7 separate regions of the Homo sapiens genome follow, and all the other regions are linked to region 7. Evidence: promoter capture Hi-C in 16 types of primary human blood cells and fetal thymus (Javierre and others, 2016). All regions are on one chromosome and are shown on one strand. Each heading gives the region's core, a stretch centred on a gene start or on the middle of the fragment in contact. The rest is flanking DNA. Distances are from core to core; before and after follow the strand shown. Region 1 has its middle 3.5 kb from the start of C1QTNF2. Region 2 has its middle 45 kb from the start of PWWP2A. Region 3 holds the start of CCNJL (cyclin J like). Region 4 overlaps PWWP2A (PWWP domain containing 2A). Region 5 holds the start of PWWP2A (PWWP domain containing 2A). Region 6 has its middle 24 kb from the start of CCNJL. Region 7 holds the start of CCNG1 (cyclin G1).

Region 1 (2,790 bases), core at 112-2,611, 3.1 Mb before region 7:
GTTTGTTTAAGATGGAGTCTTGCTCTGTTGCCTAGGCTGGAGTGCAGTGGCACAATCTCAGCTCACTGCAATCTCCACCTCCCGGGTTCAAACGATTCTCCCGTCTCAGCCTGCCAAGTAGCTGGGACCACAGGCGCGCAACACCACACTAGGCTAATTTTTGTACTTTTAGTAGAGATGGGGCTTCACTATTTTGCTCAGGCTGGTTTTGAAATCCTGGCCTCATGTCATCCAACTGCCTCGGCCTCCCAAAGTGCTGGGATTACAGGCGTGAGCCATTGCACCCGGCCACAGTCTATAAACATTTATTACCTATTATGAGTATGGGGACAAAGAGATGAACTTCTGAATGAGAACACAAATTACACCAGGAGGCAAAATACAATTAAGTGCCATAGGAAAGGTGCAAAGTGTGAACATGAAAGAGGAGGATTTTCCCCTTCGATTTCATTCAATTCATTTCACATCCATTCACATCTAGAGAACATGCTAGTATCCACCTAGAGAAGACGAATGATATTATGACATTGATGGCCACAGAGCGGGGCAGCCATGAGGCAGATGTGGCAGATTGGCTTGTTCCACAATTGTCCAAACTTTTCTTGGTGTGCTTTCCTATACAACAGAGACTAGAAAGCTAAAAATCCATTTCCTAGACTCCTTGCTGTTGGGGCTCCCATTATAATTTAGGTTTAGCCAGTCCTGTGCACCTGGGAAAGACCTGAATTCAAAATTGTGTTCAGAAAAACAAAAAACAAAAACAGTTATGTGAAGAGGAGGTAGCAGCCTGGGAGGAATCCACTTTGCTGGTGGTGACCTGGAAGATGCAGTGTGACTCTAGAGTTCTGCCAGTTCCTGATCCCCAGATTACACCTAAGATGTTGTGTTCTTGTAGTCAGACTAGGCCAGTCGCCGGCCTCCTGATTGTGGCAGAAGGCCACATCCCTTGGGGTGGTGGGGTTAGTACGACGGCAGGTTTTGGGACTCATTCCTGCAAGCCCAAGCCAGAACTTGTTCTGCAATGGTTCTGAGTCTATTTGATTCTTTTTATTAAATTCATGTCTGCTTAAAATCCTAACTGACATGTCATGTTATGAACTATAGGTGCTGTGAAAGTCAGGGAAAGGAGATGAGTGTGGATCAGAACAAGCAGAGAAGAAATCTAGAGGACTGCCTTCTTTCCTCTTTCTATCCACCTCCTATGCTCAACCCCATTTCAATCCTCCCATCAACCTTCAGATTAATCATTGATTAAATATCAGCAACTACAATGCACCAGGCACTCTGCTTGATGTTGAGCTCACAGTGATGAATGAATAAGGAAGGTCTCTCCTTATGAGACAGATGTGAAACCAGCAACCAAATAAACATATAATTCAAAATTGTGGTGAAAATAAGAGGGAAACATGGGAAAGAATAACGGTATGAAGTCTGTGAGATAACCTACTTTGATTGAAAAGTCTAGATGATCTCTTCAGTAGGTGATATTTAAGCTGAGTCCCAAAGGATAAAAAAGGGCTAGTCATACAAAGGTAGCCAAGGTGAGGAGTGGTGCCAGGCAGAAGGAGCAGGGTATGTACAAGCTACCTTAGTCCTTCTAAATATCTTTCTAATGCTTCCCTGTGTAACAGAGGATAAAGCCTAAACTCAGCCTTTTTTTGTTGAGGGGACTGTCCTATGCATTGTAGGATTAGCAGGATCTCTGGCCTCTACCCACTAGATACTACCTACTAGTAGCAGCCCTCCTCGACCCCAGCTGGGACAACAAAAATGTCTTCAGACTTTGCCAAATCTTTCCAGAGGGGCAAAATTGCCCTCTGTTGCAAACCACTGTCTTATAGGTAAGCTCTGCTTTGCTCAGGGTGGTTTTCTCACTGACTCCCAAATGCACCATCAATGTTTACATTTCTGCACCTACATATGCCATTCCCTCTAATTACTATATCTTCTTCTACCTCTCCACAAAGCCTTACCATTATTTCTACCAGAAATTCATGGCTTTTTCCATTGGTGAACTCTGTTTGGATGACTCTCATGTGTTTTGGGTGGTAGGGGAAGAGAGGTCTATCTTAGTGCTCTGTCTGCTCTCTGGCTACAGTGCCAGGGGCATGTGAATTACATACCCTTTCCCTTTCTGCCCAGTTAGGAGTTGAATTGGTGGGCATGAGATCCAAGTGAGCCAATCAGTCTTTCCACGTGATCTCCATAAGAGTGCATTGCTTTTCTTTTGAATTGTTGACTGCAAAGAGGTAGCCCCTGGGCTGCCACTAGCCATGTTTTTCCTGCCACTTGGAGACAGCCTGCTTATGGCAGGAGACAATGACATGAATACACAAATAGAAGTAGATTCAAGAAGAACTGAAAGGTGGAGCAAGTGCCATGACTACATTATTAAAGCCCTTTTTTCAGATACTTGTGCTAAAACAGGTTCATTCTCATATTCTTTTTCTTTCTTTAAGCTAGTTTGAATTGTTTCTGTCAGTTACCATGGAAAGTCCTAATCAATATCCTTCAATGCCTAGTCCAAATCTTTCCTCTTTTATGAAGTCCTCTCAGCATAGAACAGTATGAAGAAAATCCCTTCTTTGCATTCTTAACTTGTGGTTTGGTGGATCCCAGCAGCCAATTCCATGCATCTCTTCCCAACTCTGAGTTTAGTGATGTCATGTTGGTAATGTGAAAGTAATCACACCATGAAATCAGCAAATTCTACAAATCAGAGCACTGTTTCCTCTACCCCAGCCCCCAGCCTGTTCACCAGCACATCACTGTCTAAATCCCTTCACAACT
Region 2 (2,700 bases), core at 167-2,666, 3.4 Mb before region 7:
TGAGGCAGGAAGACCACTTGAACCACAAGGTTGAGGCTGCAGTGAGCCATGGCTGCACCACTGCACTCCAGCCTGGGCAACAGAGCGAGACTCCGTCTCATAAATAAATAAATAAATAATAAAACAAAAATTAGCCAGGTGTGATGGCAGGTGCCTGCATTCCAGCCTGGGTAACAGAGTGAGACTCCGTCTCAAAAATAAATAAATGAATAAGTAAATCAAAAATTAGCCAGGCATGATGGCAGGTGCCTGTAATCCCAGCTACTCGGGAGGCTGAGGTGGGAGAATCACTTGAACCTGGGAGGCGGAAGTTGCAGTGTGCCGAGATTGCACCATTACACTCCAGCCTGGGCAACAAGAGCGAGGCTCCGTCTCAAAAAAAAAAAAAAAAAAAAAAAAAAAAATCCTAACATCTCCCCAGGGGTTTCGGCCTTGGCTGAGTAGGAACTGAAGAGCTTGGTGAGATGGATTTCTACACCTCATTTTGCCAATAAGGCTGCTGTGTGACTTTGCTGTCAAAGGTCATTGATAGAACTGATAACAGAATCCATGTCTCCTACCTCTTTAGACTAAGGCAGGTTATTAGTATAAAAACATTTCTTTTTTTTTTTTTTCTTGAGACGGAGTCTCACTTTGTTGCCCAGGCTGGAGTACAGTGGCGCGATCTCAGCTCACTGCAAGCTCTGCCTCCCGGGTTCACGCCATCCTCCTGCCTCAGCCTCCCGAGTAGCTGGGACTAGAGGTACCCACCACCACGCCCGGCTAATTTTTGTATTTTTAGTAGAGACAGAGTTTCACCGTGTTAGCCAGGATGGTCTCGATCTCCTGACCTCATGATCCACCCTCCTCGACCTCCCAAAGTACTGGGATTACAGGCGTGAGCCACCATGCCCGGCCAAAAACATCTTTAACATCACCAAGCCACTTTCCCTCCTTTAGACAGCTGCTTCTACAAACTTGCCTCACAAGGAAATAATGAAAGGGCTAACCCTGAAAGTACTCTTAACGCTTAAAGACAATGTCTTCCCACTGTTTGGCCAGCTCTCTCTTCTTCTGGCACAGTTTTCCTGAATCATACTCTCCTTTACCCCAAGCTCACTACCTTGTTGGTACCAAAGCAAAGGAATTGTTAAGGCCATGAAATTTCATTCCAAGCCGGGTGCGGTGGCTCACACCTGTAATCCCAGCACTTTGGGAGGTCAAAGCGGGTGGATCACTTGAGGTTGGGAGTTCAAGACCAGCCTGGCCAACATGGCGAAACCCCTTCCCTACTAAAAATACAAAAATTAGCCGGGCATGGGGGTAAGCACCTGTAATCCCAACTACTCAGGAGGCTGAGGAAGGAGAATCTCTTGAACCCAGGGGGCAGAGGTTGCAGTGAGCCGAGATCGTGCCACTGCACTCCAGCCTGGGTGACAGAGTGAGACTCCGTTTCAAAAAAAAAAAAAAAAAATTTCATTCCGATTAAGCAAAGATTTGGCAGCATGCTAATCACTAGAGAAAAGGATGCTTAAAAAATAACATATTCTGGCCAGGCAGTGGCTCACACCTGTAATCTCAGCACTTTGGGAGGCTGAGGCAGGTGGATCACCTCAGATCAGGAGTTCGAGACCAGCCTGACCAACATGGAGAAACCCTGTCTCTACTAAAAATACAAAATTAGCTGGGAGTTGTGGCACATGCCTGTAATCCCAGCTATTCGGGAGGCTGAGGCAGGAGAATCGCTTGATCCCAGGAGGTGGAGGTTGCAGTGAGCCGAGATCGCACCACTGCACTCCAGCCTGGGCAACAAGAGCGAAAATCTGTCTCAAAAAAATAAATAAATAAATAAATAAAGTCCAGGCACAGTTGTTCACGCTGTAATCCCAGCACTTTGCGAAGCCGAGGCAGGCGGATCACCTGAGATCGGGAGTTTGAGACCAGCCTGACCAACAGGGAGAAACCTCATCTCTACTAAAAATACAGAATTAGCCAGGGGTGGTGGCGCATGCCTGTAAACTCAGCTACTTGGGAGGCTGAGGCAGGAGAATTGCTTGAACCCGGGAGGCGGAGGTTGCAGTGAGCCAAGATCGTGCCATTGCACTCCAGCCTGGGCAACAAGAGCAAGACTCCGTCTCAAAAAAACAAAAAAAAAAACAAAAAAAACCTCTTTATTCAAATAATTTCTTATTCTGATAAAAGAATCATGGCCAGGTGCAGTGGCTCATGCCTATAATCCCAGCACTTTGGGAGGCCGAGGCAGGAGGATCACTTGAGCCCAGGAGTTTGAGACCAGCCTGGACAACAAAGCGAGACCTTGTCTCTATTATTTAAATTAAAAAAAAAAAATCTTTACTTGAAAAAGGAAAAATGAACTTACGCTTTCTTATGTGAAGGCCAGCATTGGTAAGATTTTCAGTTGCTTCTATTGGTTCCATCATTCATTCCCTCCATCTTGTAGGAGTTGTGTCTATAAATATACTGATACATGTATACATGACCAGGATCAGTATGAGTCTCCTGTAGGCCCTCTCAGATAATGAGCACATGGCTTGTTAATCTTCCCTGGTTCTCCCTGTTCCATTTTCATTAGTGAGAAATTTGAGAGAAAAAAGATATTAGCAGAGCCAGATTCCTGTGGTCTCTTTTTTACACTCATTTAAATAAACTGAAATGGGAGAATGTTTGAGATTAAAGCCTTCATGTACTCTGGAATAACAG
Region 3 (2,769 bases), core at 67-2,566, 3.1 Mb before region 7:
GACAAGGGCAGGGAGGGACTGACCTTCTCGCGCAGGGTGCAGTGGACGTCCGAGGCGACGCGCCCTTCCCACCACGGCTCATCCATCATCGCGTACGCAGCGCCGCTATCCGAGGCTACCCGGCTCTCAGGGCGCACCCTGCGTGGACACGGGCAACTTCAGCGGCCAGAGCGTACCCCGGGCTCCGACCCCCGGTGTCCCTATCCTCTCTCGCCCCTGGCCCCGGGCCCCGGCGGGCGCCCCCTCCTGCGCCGCTCAGAGGAGCTGGAGGTCGCCTCTGGTCCGCGGAAGGCTGCGGTGCCCCCTCCCCTCTGCTCGCCGGACACGGGGCGATATGGAGCTGTGCAACAACTTGCAGAATTTTTATCTTCCCTTTTGCAAAAGTTGCAGAGAAAGTTGTCAACTCCGCTAGCTCGCTCGAGGCTGGGGCTCTGGCGGCGGCCACAGGCTCGCCGTCCCCAACTCCTCCCCCGCCGCCCAGCCTTTGTCCTGCTCCCACATCCTGCCCTCGAGCCGGGGCGAAACTCACGCATCCTCTCTGGGCGTGGGGGGCTGCGAGCGCCGGGCCCCTCCCAGTGCCGAGCCAGCCGTGCCCTCTGGTGCCTGCCGGCGGTTGGACCCTCGTCCGAGGCGCTCCGCACTCCCGACGGCCGCCTCCGCAGCCCGACTAGCCCCCGCCGTCGCCGCGCCCCTGCGTGCGCTCGGGTCCCGCCGCGGCTCGCAGGCTCCCGGCCGCCGGGGGCCTCCCTCCCTCGCTGGGGGAATTGGGGGCCGGGCCTCGCGCATGCGCTGCCGGCGCCCCCGCGCCCCGCGGGGCGGGGGGCTGGGAATTGGAGCCTTTCTTTGCCAGCTCTGGCTCCGCTTCCTGCCCGCCCTCCTCCCTCGCTTCGGCGGAAAGCTTCTCTCTCACCTTCGCTGAGGCTAGTGGTAGCCTTCTGGGCACCCCTCCGGCTTGCGCAGGGAGCAAAGGGACCGCGGCGCCACCTGCGCGCACCACGCGTGAAACGTGCGGACAGGACGCCCCCAGAAAGTTCTGCCTTCCGCGCGCACTGCTCTAGCCATCCTTACGTCGGTTCCACCTGTTTTTCTTTCTCTCTCTCTTTTTTTTTTTTTCCTGTTTTTGTTTTTTGTTTGTTCTCCTCTTCTTTGAAACCCGCCCTGCCATGGGGAGGTAGATTTCCAAACGGACAATTCCAGTGAAAGCTGCAGAAAAACCACCCTTGTTCACCCACGAGTCCCTAATTCTAAAGGAGCCTAAGTCACTGGTATTATTGTGCTCCTGCAGAATATGAACTATGCCTCACATTGGAGGAAAACCAGTCTTTTTTTGCCGGGTCCGGTGGATGGAAAACATTGTCTTTTTAATTCAATTGCTTGCTTTTGGAAAGTCATCCTTTTGAGTCAGCCCATCTGATGGCATAGCATTGGGCTATCCTTCTTGGCTGATTGATTTTTGTGATAGTTTTGGAGATTCACAAATTTGGAATCAAATCCACTTACCAACTGGGTGATTTTTGTCAAGTTCCTCAAACTCAGAGCCTCGTGTGTAAAATGGAAATAAAAGTTAAACCAACCTGCTGAAAATTAAAGGAGATAATGCGTGTAAAGGGATAATCACTACACCAGGTATTAAGTGAACACTCAGTAAACAACTGTGACTGAAGAGCCTTTAGTTTCTGACTGCTTTCCTGCACATAAAGACACACCTGGGAAAAAAAAATTAAATCAGCTTTGATAAGCTTCAATTGGACCTTGAAGAGCAGTTTTAATGTAAAACAAACGAACCATTTTAAAAGTGTAAGATACCTAAAAATAAACTGAATAAATGTGCAGGCTCTTAATGAAGACATTACAAAGGTTGAAACATAATAAAGAAGGCTTGAAGGAATAGAGGCACAAACACCAACTTAACCCAAATTACTCTATTTAATAAAATTTTAATGGTTGTGGGTAGATTGGAGGAGGGGGCACTTAACATGTTTTCTAACCTTCAAATGGGAGAATATCTGCGAGAAAAGCTAAGAAATTTATATTTTAAAAATGGGGGGATGGCGGGGCGCGGTGGCTCACGCCTGTAATCCCAACACTTTGGGAGGCCAAGGGCAGGCAGATCACCTGAGGTCAGGAGTTTGAGACCAAACTGGCTAACATGGTGAAACCCTGTTTCTACTAAAAATACAAAAAATTAGCCGAGTGTGGTGGTGCACGCCTGTAATCCCAGCTACTTGGTAGGCTGAGGCAGGAGAGTCACTTGCATCTGGGAGGCGGAGGTTGCAGTGAGCCGAGATCGTGCCACTGCACTCCAGCTTGGGCAACAAGAGTGAAACTCCGTCTCAACAAACAAACGAACAAAAAAACTGGGGGGACAGACCTGTATTATCAAATCTTAAAGCATATTGCAACACTATAGTTAAAACAGTGTAGTGTTCACACAAGAATGGATGGATTAAGCATCAGTGGAATAACTGAAAGTCTAGGAAAATTTAATATATTTAAAAATTCACTGTATGATAAATGTGGCATTTCACTTTGTTGGGACAAGTATAAACGGCTAAATTATTTAATAAATTAGGTTGGGGGAAAAAAGTAAAACTAAGGACTTGTTTAAATATCACCAAAATAAATATAAGAACTCAGAGAACTACAAACAAGCAAATCACAAGAGGATAAGAAGAAAACATACACGAATTATACGGAGGGGAAGGCCTAGATACTAAGACATGGGAAGAAACCAAAGGCAAGGTGAGTAGACAAATTTGAATAAATATG
Region 4 (2,754 bases), core at 135-2,634, 3.3 Mb before region 7:
TAAACTTGCTATACTAAGTTTTCTTCACATAAAATCAAATCACACTACCAAATAATTTCAGCATATAGGTTAGCATGTTGACTATATGCACTATTTGATTCCAACAATATCTAACACAATACAACTGTAATGCCAATCCTGTAAGGCAAAGGGGCTTAGATCTAAACCCAAAGATTGGCTTCAGGTAGTCAGTCACGTGGAACCTTCAAAACTAGATGCCAGTGTTTTATATATGTCTATATTTTCTACACTACAAATCTTCAGTGCTCAGATTCTCCGAAATGTTCTTTTTTTTTTTTTTTTTTTTTTTTAAAGACAAGATCTCACTCTGTCATCCAGGCTGCAGTGCAAGTGGTACCATCACAGCTCACTGCAGCCTCGACCTCCTAGGCTCAAGCAATCCTCCCGTCTCAGCCTCCCAAGTAGCTGGGACCACAGACACACGTCACCATGCCTGGCTAATTTTAGTATTTTTTGTAGAGACAGGGTTTCACCATGTTGTCCAGGCGAATGCCTGAGCTCAAGCAGTCTGCCCACCTCAGCCTCCCAAAGTGCTGGGATTACAGACGTGAGCCACCGTGTCCAGCCAGAAATGTTCTTATGCTCCCAAAAAGGTTCAGAATACCTTTGCTAGGAAGAAATCTTGATATTAGGTACTAACAGCTGTGGACAAACCTAAACGTGGGCAGGATTTACAAAGAGCCAGCATACACCAGGTATTATTCTAGCACCTGAATACTTTTTTCCCAAAATTCTTTGTTAGTCTGGCTACCACAAACCAACAACTTACAGCAAATACTTACAAAACATAAAAAGGAAAGGCTTTTTTTTTACCTACGGTAAGACAAGATTAGGTCTCGGATAGTCCAAAAAGGAAAGGTACCTCCTATTGTATCAGACTGCACAGAAAGTTGCTTTCTCCATTCTAACTTCTGGTAACCAAGTGTTTGCTTCCTGACTACTTAACTCAAAGTAACTTTAAGCATTTAACCCTTTCTTACACAGTACATAGGTGCTCATTAACCACTTTTTCAAAAGATGACAGGACAAAAGAGGTGCTTCTTGTGTTTTAATGCAGAACCAACATAAACAATGTGACTTATTTGATGTGATATCACTACTTGCATTAACAATAACATTTTCTAACTTGTAAGAAGGCATAATTTTGCCCCCATCACATGTTCACGTTTCAATACCTGAATGAAGAGAAGTGCCCTTCCTCTTACTGATTTATAAAATTTTTTTATAGAGACGGTGCCTCACTCTGTCACTCAAGCTGGAACGCAGTGGTGCAATCATGGATTGCTGCAGCATCAACCTCCTGAACTCAAGCAATCCTCTCATCTCAGCCTCCCAAGTAGTTGGGACTACAGGCACCTGCCACCATGCCTGGCTCCCTTCCTTTTATTAGGACTAACTAAACCATACTTATCTTAATGTTTGAGGTGAAGTTTCACAGCTGTCTTTTATCAACTGTTTGTATCCTCTAAACTCATTTTTGCATGTGTAAAATGAAACACTATTTCTGACCTTAAAAGGATTCAGATAAAGATCAATAGGTGAATACGCGGCAGCCATTTTCCTTGGTTAATATTTACTTTATTTAATTTGCTTCATGTAAGTGATTTAATCTTATTTTCAAACTAGTAACTTACAGCCTGATGCAGTGGCTCACGTCTGCAATCCTAACACTTTGGGAGGGTGAGGTGGGCAAATTGCTTGAGCCCAGGAGTTTGAGACCAGCCTGGGCAACATAGGAAGACTCCGTGTTTCTACAAATAGGAAAAATTAGCCTGGTGTGGGGGTATGTACCTGTGATCCCAGCTACTTGGGAGGCTGAGGTGGGAGGATTGCTTGAGTCTGGGAGGTCAAGGCTTCAGTGAGCCATGTTCGCGCTATCGCACTCCAGCCTGAGCAAGTGAGTAAGCCTTTGTCTCAAAAAAAAAAAAAAAAAAAAAAAAAAAAGGCCAGGCACAGTGGCTCACGCCTGTAATCCCAACACTTTGGGAGGCCTGAGGTCAGGAGTTCAAGACCAGCCTGGCCAACATGGTGAAACCCCGTCTCTACTAAAAATACAAAAATTAGCTGGGTGTGGTGACACGCGCCTGTAGTCCCAACTACTCGGGAGGCTGAGGCAGGAGAATCGCTTGAACCCGGGAGGTGAAAGTCGCAGTGAGCCGAGATCGCACCACTGCACTCCAGCCTAGCAACAGAGAGAGACTCCGTCTCAAATAACATAACATAAAAATAAATAAAACAAATACAAAAACAAAAAACACCTAATAATTTACTAGAGGTTTTTTTTTTGGGGGGGGGGGCGGTTGTTTTGTTTTTTTGAGACAGACTCTCACTGTCGCCCAGGCTGGAGTGCAGTGGCACAATCTCGGCTCACTGCAACCACCGCCTCCTGGGTTCAAGCTATTCTCATGCCTCAGCCACCTGAGCAGCTAGGATTACAGACGCGAGCCATCACGCCTGGCTAATTTTTGTATTTTTAGTAGATGGGGTTTCATTATGTTGGCCAAGCTGGTTTTGAACTTCTGGCCTGAAGTGATCCACCAGCCTCAGCCTCCCAAAGTGCTGGGATTACAGGCGTGAGCCACTGCAACCAGCCAATTTTGCTAGAATTTAGGCTCCTTCCCATGTCTTTAATTTATACTCTCAATGCAAGTATGGCCCAGCCAATTATTTTATAGCTGTTTATATCAAGTAATGGAATCTGGTATGTTTATCTTTATGAAGTTCAGTAAGAAT
Region 5 (2,700 bases), core at 100-2,599, 3.3 Mb before region 7:
AAGTTACTTGAACATTTTTATGCTACACCACCTTGACATTAAAGGATTTTTTAAAAATCTCCAATCTCTTCTTTAAACTTTTCTTAAACTATCATTAAAATTAGCAAAATATGCTTCTCTGTTGAATGGTTAACCTAACGGGAATGACTTCTAACCGTAAGAATTACAGTTAAAAGGTTCATTTTAACAAATGCTCTTCCCCCTGTAAGGAGTGACAGGTAACCTTTTGGGAACCCCAATGTACACACCCCTTTCTCCAATCCCGCTAAAGTTAAACGTTAGAGGACAGACAAGTGCCTCCTCGCAAGCAATGCCCCCCGCCCCCCCGTCCCCCCGTCCAACACTCCGTTCTCTGCAAAAATCCATCTGCATCTTGCATTAACCCACCCGCCCAGTGACGGTGACTCCAGGCCAAGTCGCAGAAGAAGACCAGGCGTGAGGGGTGAGACCTGTGAGCCCATCTGCACCTGCACCCTCCCACCTGGTGGCACACCTGCCCCGCAGGCGCCCACCTGGGGCCGGGACCGCCCTCTCCCGGTCTCGCGCGCCTGCCCCACTCGGAGCGCGCGCCACGCGCCGCGCAGGACCAGAGGGCGGGGCCCCGGGCAGCGGGGAAGCGAGGGCTCGGGGAGAGGGGGCCGCCCGGGCTCACTCCCTCCCTGGGGACCCAGCGGACCGGAGGGTGCTGGGGGCGGGCGCGGTACCTTTTGGACAGATCCATGAGGACCCCGGAGAAGAGCTTCTCCCCGAAGCGGAACGACACGACAAGCGCGTCCTCAATGATGTGGTCCAGCGTGACCCGCACCTCCGAGCCCGGGATCAGTTGCGACACCGTGGAGTCCCCGCCCGCCGGCGGCACGAGCGCCGGGGCTACGGGCTGAGGCAGCGGCGGCTCCTCGCGCTCCTCGGGAGCCGGGGGCTGCTCCGGCGGCGATGCAGGAGAAGGTGGAAGTTCCGGCCCTCCCTGAGGCGCGGCTGCCGCCGACTCCGCCACCCGAACGGACAGTTTCTCCTCAGCCTCCAGCTCCGGCCCCACCGCCTCTGGGCTGCGGGCGAGCTCCCCCGGCGGCGGCGGTGGCGGCGGGAGCGGCGGCTCGTCGGCCTGAGGAGCGGATTGCTGCCCGTCAGTCTCGCCATCCGGCACAGACGCTTCAGTGGCCGTGACCGGGAGGGGGTCAGTGCCGGCCTCACTGCCGGGGATGGGCTCCATCTCCGGCTCGGCCTCGCCGGCGCCCCCCTCCCCGGGGGACGCTGCAGTCGCTGCCGCCTCTGCAGCCACGGCCGCCATTTTCTTCCTAGCTTCTCCCTCCTCCAACTCCGGCTGCAGCGGCGGCGGCGACAGCGCTGCTTGGTTCCCTGGGCCTTCCCCTCCCTCCCGCGAACACTTTCGTCCCGCCCTTTCCCTGATGCTCGTTTCTGGCACCTCGCCATTGGTTGCATTCTACACCCCTCCCGCACTTTTGATATTCCATTGGCCAGGGATGGACGTCTATCATCTAGTCAGTCCATCCTTCCCACGCAGAGTAGGAACTTCTCATTGGCCAGATGTGTTGTCAAGTGTGGAATCTGAGTGGAGGAATAGGGGGCGGAATCAAAGGGGGCGGGGGAAGTCACAAAAGAGGAGCCATATACTCATCGCCTCTTGCTATTGGCTGGAAGAGGAAATAAAGTTTTATGGTTGGCCTACGCTCCTGCCCATTATCAGCCAGGTCTTTGGAGGTGGGAGAAAGGATGGAATCATGTGGCGTGCCACTTCTTTCAAAGGCGGCCGAGGGGAGGAGTAACAAGGGAATGCGGGAGGGGAACCGCTTCCCAAGAATCTCTGCGCAGAGATCCTTAGAATAAATGTTATTTCTAGGCGCGGACTTCTTGCGGCCGCGTGTGGGCACGACAGGCTTCTTTGGGAAAGACAACTAAAGTTTGAAATACAATCCTACAGACACTTTTTGAGTGCCTACTATGCTAGTCACTGCACTAGGTGCTGGGGAATGGAATGTTCAAGACGTTCTCCATAACCTCATAGCAGCGGGCTCCAGCGGCCATGAGGAGTACGAGGAGTATTTTCCTTGACTTCTAGGAGTATGATGAGTATTTTCCTTGACTTCTCTCCACTTCCTAGGAACAAAGCACCTATTTATTAATATTTCAGAAATAGGAAAATGCTCATGAAAGAAGAGAGACACCATCCTCACTGGATTAAACTGATGACTGTTCCAGGAAGGAGTCTTGAGACATTGCTGGACTGATATGTGAACACTGCTTGTTCTCTCCAAATCCACTTGCAAAGTGGACGCACCTGGTCCCTGCTAAAGCCTTTTTCTTTCCTGGCTTCTCCAATGCCACGAGAACAAAAGATCTCTCACTTCAGTGTCCTGACGCCCCTACTTCTCTTACTTCCACATCAAGTCTTTTCGTTTGTCATCTCTGGAAGAATCTACTGAACCTATTTCTCTCAAATGGCACCACAGAGTCAGCCTTTTTTCTGGGAGAATGCCTGCAGGAGAGAGGGTAGAAAAACTGCTAGCAATGAAAGTAAAAAAAATAAAGTCCTGAAGAATAATTACAGCTAGTGTCTTTTGAGTACCATGTACCAGGCACTAATACAAACACTATAGCATATCATCTCAATCCTTAAAATTTTGAGGCACAAAGAGGGTGCCCAAGGTTACTCGGCTGGTAAATTGCATAGTCAGAATTTCA
Region 6 (2,700 bases), core at 144-2,643, 3.1 Mb before region 7:
TTAATATATCTGTTTATATATAATGTAGACTATATAGTTTATGATCTATTTATATATCTATATTTTTATGTACCTGGATATATAGAATTTATATATTTTTATATACAGAAAATCCCAAAGAATCCACAAGAAAGTTGCTAGAGTACAGCTTCCTATTGTCTCTTGCCTGGGCATGTTTTGCCTCCATTCCTCCACCCAAAATGCTCTTTCAAGGTCTCTGATCTCCATCTTGCTAAAGCCAATGGTCAACACTTAGTCTGCATCATCTGATATGGTTGATCATTCCTTCGTCTTTCTTTCTTTCTCTTTTTTTTGAGATGGGGTCTCTGTTGCCCAAGCTGGAGTGCAGTGGCGTGATCATAGCTCGCTGCAGCCTTTGAACTCCTGGGCTCAAGAGATCCTCCTGCCTCAGCCTCTCAGATAGCTGGGACTATAGACAAATGCCATCATGTCTAATTTTTTTTTTTGAAATTTTTTTTTTTTTTTGTAGAAACAATGTTTTGCTTTGTTGTCCAAGCCATTCTCAAATTCCTGGCTTCAAGTGATCCTCCCGCTTCAGCTTCCCAAAGTGCTAGAATTACAGGCATGAGACACTACACCCAGACCCCTTGCTCTTTTTAACAGTATCTTTGGTTTCCAGCATCACAGTCTCTTGATTCTCTTCTAGCTCTGTAGCAACCACTTACTTTTCAGTCCTCCTCATCGTCCACAATCCAAATACCAGAGTGTCCCAGGACTCAGTCTTCAGACTCTCCCCTTCTTTATTTGAATTCTTCCCCCTTGTGATCTCTCTAGAACCATGGCTTAAAAGCCATCTATAGACTGAGGACTTCTAAATTTATATCGTCAGTCCAGAACTCTTCTCTGAACTCCAGACTCATACATTCAACTACCCATTTGCCATCTCAACTTAGTTGTTGATGACAGTCCTCAAAAGAATATGTCTACATCAAATGTCTGGAACCTGTGAATGTGGCCTTATTTGGAAAAAGGGTCTTTGCAGATGTAATTAAGGGTCTTGAGGTGAGAAGATCTCTAAGAGGGTCCCTAAGTCAAATAGAAGTGTTCTTATAAGACACAAAGAGAGGAGAACCACTCAGAAGAGGAGAAGGCTGTGTGACCAAGGAGGCAGAGACTGCAGCAATGCAGCTGCAAGTCAAGGAATGCTGATGGCCACCAGAAGCTGGAAGAGGCAAGGAACAGAATCCAACCAAGATCCTTCAGAGTAAGCGCGGCCCTGCTGCTGACATGTAGATGTCAGACTCTGGGTTCCAGAACTGTGGGAGAATCCATTTCTGTTGTTTTAAGCCACAGTTTGTGGTAATCTGTTATGGCAGCTCTAGGAAACTTACACAGATGTTTTATAGACATCTCTGACACAATGTTTCTCAAAACAAACTCTATTTACTCACCTCCTGCTCCCATCCACAGAGCCTGCTCCTCCCACTCCTCCCAGGAGCAGTGTTTCCCATCCTGGTGAAGGGCAATTCCAGCCTTAAAGTTGCTCAGGCAAAAACCTTTATGTCAGTGTTGACCCTTCACTTTCCGTCACAGGCCACATCCAAATACTCAGTGAAACCTGTTGGCTCTATCTCCAAAGACGGCCAAAATTACATCGTTTCTTACCTCTTTCCTGCAACCACTTGGGGCCAAGCTCCCATCATCCCTTGCTGGGATTTTTTTTTTCCTCCCTCCCTCCCTTCCTTCCTTCTTTCTTTTTCTTTCTTTTTTTTTTTTTTTTTTTTGACAGGGTCTAGCTCTGTTGCCCAGCTTGGAGAGCAGTGGCACGATCATGGACTACTGCAGCCTCTGCCTCCTGGGCTCAAGCAATCCTCCCACCTCAGCCTTCTGAGTAGCTGGGGCTACAGGCACGTACCACCATGCCCGGCAAATTTTTGATTTTTTTTTTTTTTAGGGTGTAGAGACAGGTTTTCACCATGTTGCCCAGGCTGGTCTTGAACTCCTGGGCTGAAAAGATCCTTCTGTCTCGCCTCGCCTCCCAAAGTGCTGGGATTACAGGTGTAAGCCACCGAACTTGGCTGCTGGGATTATTAAACTAATCTCCTGTCTCCCTCTTTTGTCATTGCCCCTCACAGTCTATTCTCAAATAGTAGCTGGAGGAATGCTGTTATAATTGAAACCAGACTTCATCGCGCATCTGCTCAAAGCCCTCCAATTATTTCACGTCTCACTCAGCATAAAAGCCAAGTGGTTACCAGTTCTGCAGGGCCCTACATGATCTGGGTGCTTGTAACCTTTCTGAGGTCATCACCTGCCACTCTCTTCCTGTTACTCTGCTCCTTGAGCCAACCATGTTGACTCCCACCTTAGGGACGTTGCATTGAGAATGTCGGGGGTTGGGAAGGAGCTGGTAGAGCTCCTTCCAACAAAATGTTGCCAGGTTACATTTTGTGCCATTGGAGATTTGTAGGCATGAATTGAAAGTAGGCCCAATCAGCACAGTTACGTGTTCTTCTTAATATTTAGTTGGAAATGAGTGAATTGTGAACAAATGTGAACCTGAAAGAACCAATCCTTCAAGATAGATCCTGAGTGGCTAACTGGGCCTAAATTTAAAATAGAGCCAAATGACCATTTGCTGACTACAGATCACACACATACTCTGAGTTCTGCAAACACCCCTCACCTCCGTTTAATTTTGGGACTTTCAGGGCTCACCTCAACCAACCAGAGCTCACC
Region 7 (2,745 bases), core at 130-2,629:
CTAAAAGCCAAAAGGAGAAACTACATTTATAAACTCACACATTACAGCAAAAAGTATTTTTAAATAAAATCACTTGTTAAAGGTTATAAATTGCCAATTTATATTCACTAGGTAAGCTTTTATTTTCAAAAGGAACAAAGGCCTCTTCCCCATTTGAGCCCCAGTTTCTTAAACTGACCTGATTATGTGGCTAAGGTATTATTGTGAGGTATTGATGTTTTCTCCTGTTTTTCCTTCCCCTTCCTCCCCACCCCTTTTCCCCCTTTCCAGAGTTTTGTTCTGTGGCATTGCCTTGGGTAAGTACACGGCAGGGCAAATAGCAGAGTGACGGCAAATCTTTCAGATTTTCACTTTTTCAAAGTAAGAGAGACCGAACTGGGGCCATGAGAACAGAGACATCCAACTACTGTGTAATTCATAAGAGTTTAGAAATGACTCCTTGTGCACCCTTTTTCAGGCCCTTTTACAAATGGACTTTTCTCACTTGTGATGATCTGGGAGAGTGAGAGTGAGGAGAGTCTAAGAAGAGTTCAGGCTAATTATTTTCCCACTAATCTGGCATAGGAGAGGCTCACAGAGATTAAATTCATTATGGTAAATACAAAGAGTAATACTGCTTTACACTCGGGTCTGTAGACTGAGATTCACACTCACCACAATTATTCCTGTTAACAGTCTGCCACATACCTTTCATTTTAAGCAACTGAAAAATTGTACCAACTTTTCTCTTTAAATTTGCTTTAAAAGCAAATTCAGAAAATTGGTAGAGGGTCAAGAAATTACACAGTCCAACTCCATTATTTGATAAATTGTATAAAAAGCAAACTAAGGCAAGAATCAACTGACTTCCAAAGTTCACGAAGAGAGCACTCTGGAAGTTGATAAACCACCAAACCATATAAATTCCACCACCTCTTTATCTGTAATTAAAAATCAAAGGTTGACTTTTTTTTTTTTAACTACTCACTGTATTTTTAGAAAGATGGGGCAGAACCACTGTAGAACTCCTAAACCCCACAGAACAAACAGTACATTCTGGAATGATACGCCGGCCAATCCGGCTGGCAGCCGATTGACCTGACCCAGGCGAGGGTTGCTGCACCGAGTATTTAGTTTGGCCCCCTACTGAATGAAGACACTTTGTTAAATTCTCCAATGAGAGACGCTTAGAGGTAGGGGCGTGGAAGGGGGCCGGGGAATTTGAGGCCAGATAACGGGAAGTGTGAGCCGATTGGCCGGACTTCTCACTCCACGGCCCAGCCGTTTACGGATCGCGGAGGCCATCCATCAAAAGAATTACACCAATCAGCGGCGAAAATGCCCCCTTCTCGCGAGAAAGCCCCGCCCTCCAATATATTCCTCGTTAGGGCAGGCGCGGCCCCTTCGGCTCCGAGCTGACCCTGATCAGGGCCGAGTTGTCTCGGCGGCGCTGCCGAGGCCTCCACCCAGGACAGTCCCCCTCCCCGGGCCTCTCTCCTCTTGCCTACGAGTCCCCTCTCCTCGTAGGCCTCTCGGATCTGATATCGTGGGGTGAGGTGAGCAGGCCCGGGGAGGGTGGTTACCGCTGAGGAGCTGCAGTCTCTGTCAAGGTGAGTGGGACTGCGCGGGAGTTGACCGCCAGGTGCGGGTGGGGAGCTGGGTTGGGGGCGCGGGGCGAGGAGTAGGTCTGGCCCGCGCCCTTTTCCACACTAAACTCTACCGCTGTTGTGAGCACAAGCCCAGGCTAGTCCGAGGCTGGAGGGGCGGAGCCGGATCCGGCCTCCTGAGGTGCCTTTCGTGTCTGCCGACCCAGTCCCAGGGACTAGCCTGGGGAGGAAGAATGGAACCCCTGCAGTTAGAGGTTCCTCACATGACTAGCTCTGAAGACCTCCTGCCTTCCTGTCTTTAGTTGGTGTGGGAGGGACCTTCCATGTATCCAGGGCTTAGCTTGTGCCCGGGACATGGTTGTGTTATGCACACTTAAATCAATGGAATTCCCAGGTTCATCTTTCAGACTAGGTTAGCAACAACCCACCGCACCCCCCCGCCCCAATACGTGCTCCTAATGTCACCTTTTAAGTTTCCTTTCCTAACAACAATAAAAGTTAAGTAATATTGAGTATTGTGTGCCAAGCACTGTGCTATACTCTTTAAGTGGTGAATCATCTTGTTCAGTCTTCACATTCAGCGACAGATATTGTTACCCTCATTTTATAAATCTAGAAAGAAGCTCAAGCTCATTATTATTGTTCAGTGTTTTTTAAGCGTCTACTGTATGTGCTAAGCTCTTTACGTGATTTCATTTTAACTCACAAATCTGTGAGGTAGGTCATAAACCTTATCCCTACTTTATCAATGTGGAACTAAGTACAATTAAGTAACTTGAACAGTTCATTTTGTTAATATGTGGCAGAATACTTAACTACCATCTGCTTTTCACTTTCGGTATCCTGTCTTACGGTGTTTATTCGTGGTTATCTATTGACAGTGAATAACTTGAACAAGTATTTCTTGAAGATTTGCATTTTATTTTTCTAAAAAGCATGGTTCCGACCGGGCGCGGTGGCTCACGCCTGTAATCCCGGCACTTTGGAAGGCCGAGGCGGGCAGATCACAAGGCCAGGAGACCGAGACCATCCTGGCCAACATGGTGAAACCCCGTCTCTACTAAAAATATAAAAATTAGCTGGGCGCGGTGGCGCATGCCTGTAATCCCAGCTCCTCGGGAGGCTGAGGCAGGAGAATCGCTTGAACCAGGGAGTCGGA

Evidence for each region. The method cuts DNA at HindIII sites, captures the fragments that hold promoters and counts their contacts. A CHiCAGO score of 5 or more calls a contact.
Region 1: a contact is called between a fragment that was not itself captured here and the fragment with the promoter of CCNG1 in region 7, in 2 of 17 cell types (activated CD4 T cells and total CD8 T cells). The highest score is 7.7, in activated CD4 T cells.
Region 2: a contact is called between a fragment that was not itself captured here and the fragment with the promoter of CCNG1 in region 7, in 2 of 17 cell types (non-activated CD4 T cells and total CD4 T cells). The highest score is 8.0, in non-activated CD4 T cells.
Region 3: a contact is called between a fragment that was not itself captured here and the fragment with the promoter of CCNG1 in region 7, in 2 of 17 cell types (fetal thymus and erythroblasts). The highest score is 6.0, in fetal thymus.
Region 4: a fragment that was not itself captured here is called in contact with the fragment with the promoter of CCNG1 in region 7 in 2 of 17 cell types (non-activated CD4 T cells and activated CD4 T cells); the score reaches 8.2 in non-activated CD4 T cells.
Region 5: the fragment with the promoter of PWWP2A here is called in contact with the fragment with the promoter of CCNG1 in region 7 in 3 of 17 cell types (naive CD8 T cells, non-activated CD4 T cells and activated CD4 T cells); the score reaches 7.8 in naive CD8 T cells.
Region 6: a contact is called between a fragment that was not itself captured here and the fragment with the promoter of CCNG1 in region 7, in 1 of 17 cell types (naive CD8 T cells). The highest score is 5.4, in naive CD8 T cells.

What each region holds. Positions count from the first base shown.
Region 1 is chr5:160,372,697-160,375,486 of GRCh38, forward strand. No RefSeq gene overlaps it. Among named protein-coding and RNA genes, the nearest start is that of C1QTNF2, 3.5 kb to the left of the region's middle. The HindIII fragment of the contact is 4,183 bases long and covers 1-2,790 here.
Region 2 is chr5:160,072,630-160,075,329 of GRCh38, forward strand. It overlaps a transcript of PWWP2A not described here. Among named protein-coding and RNA genes, the nearest start is that of PWWP2A, 45 kb to the right of the region's middle. The HindIII fragment of the contact is 4,000 bases long and covers 1-2,700 here.
Region 3 is chr5:160,311,835-160,314,603 of GRCh38, forward strand. It overlaps CCNJL (cyclin J like), which reads right to left and starts at 730. Exons shown (of 6, transcript NM_001308173.3): 1 at 530-730; 2 at 24-138. The coding sequence starts at 89. RefSeq lists silencers at 659-778, 889-948. The HindIII fragment of the contact is 841 bases long and covers 897-1,737 here.
Region 4 is chr5:160,095,400-160,098,153 of GRCh38, forward strand. All of the region lies in intron 1 of PWWP2A (PWWP domain containing 2A), which reads right to left. Among named protein-coding and RNA genes, the nearest start is that of PWWP2A, 23 kb to the right of the region's middle. The HindIII fragment of the contact is 7,889 bases long and covers 1-2,754 here.
Region 5 is chr5:160,118,101-160,120,800 of GRCh38, forward strand. It overlaps PWWP2A (PWWP domain containing 2A), which reads right to left and starts at 1,350. Exons shown (of 2, transcript NM_001130864.2): 1 at 705-1,350. The coding sequence starts at 1,288. RefSeq lists silencers at 346-765, 886-1,065, 1,166-1,265, 1,426-1,475 and an enhancer at 902-1,401. The HindIII fragment of the contact is 17,972 bases long and covers 1-2,700 here.
Region 6 is chr5:160,335,279-160,337,978 of GRCh38, forward strand. It overlaps a transcript of CCNJL not described here. Among named protein-coding and RNA genes, the nearest start is that of CCNJL, 24 kb to the left of the region's middle. The HindIII fragment of the contact is 6,065 bases long and covers 1-2,700 here.
Region 7 is chr5:163,436,216-163,438,960 of GRCh38, forward strand. CCNG1 (cyclin G1) reads left to right here and starts at 1,380. Exons shown (of 7, transcript NM_004060.4): 1 at 1,380-1,589. It also overlaps a transcript of LOC105377700 not described here. RefSeq lists enhancers at 985-1,034, 1,476-2,053, 1,745-1,944 and a silencer at 1,225-1,304. The HindIII fragment of the contact is 4,161 bases long and covers 115-2,745 here.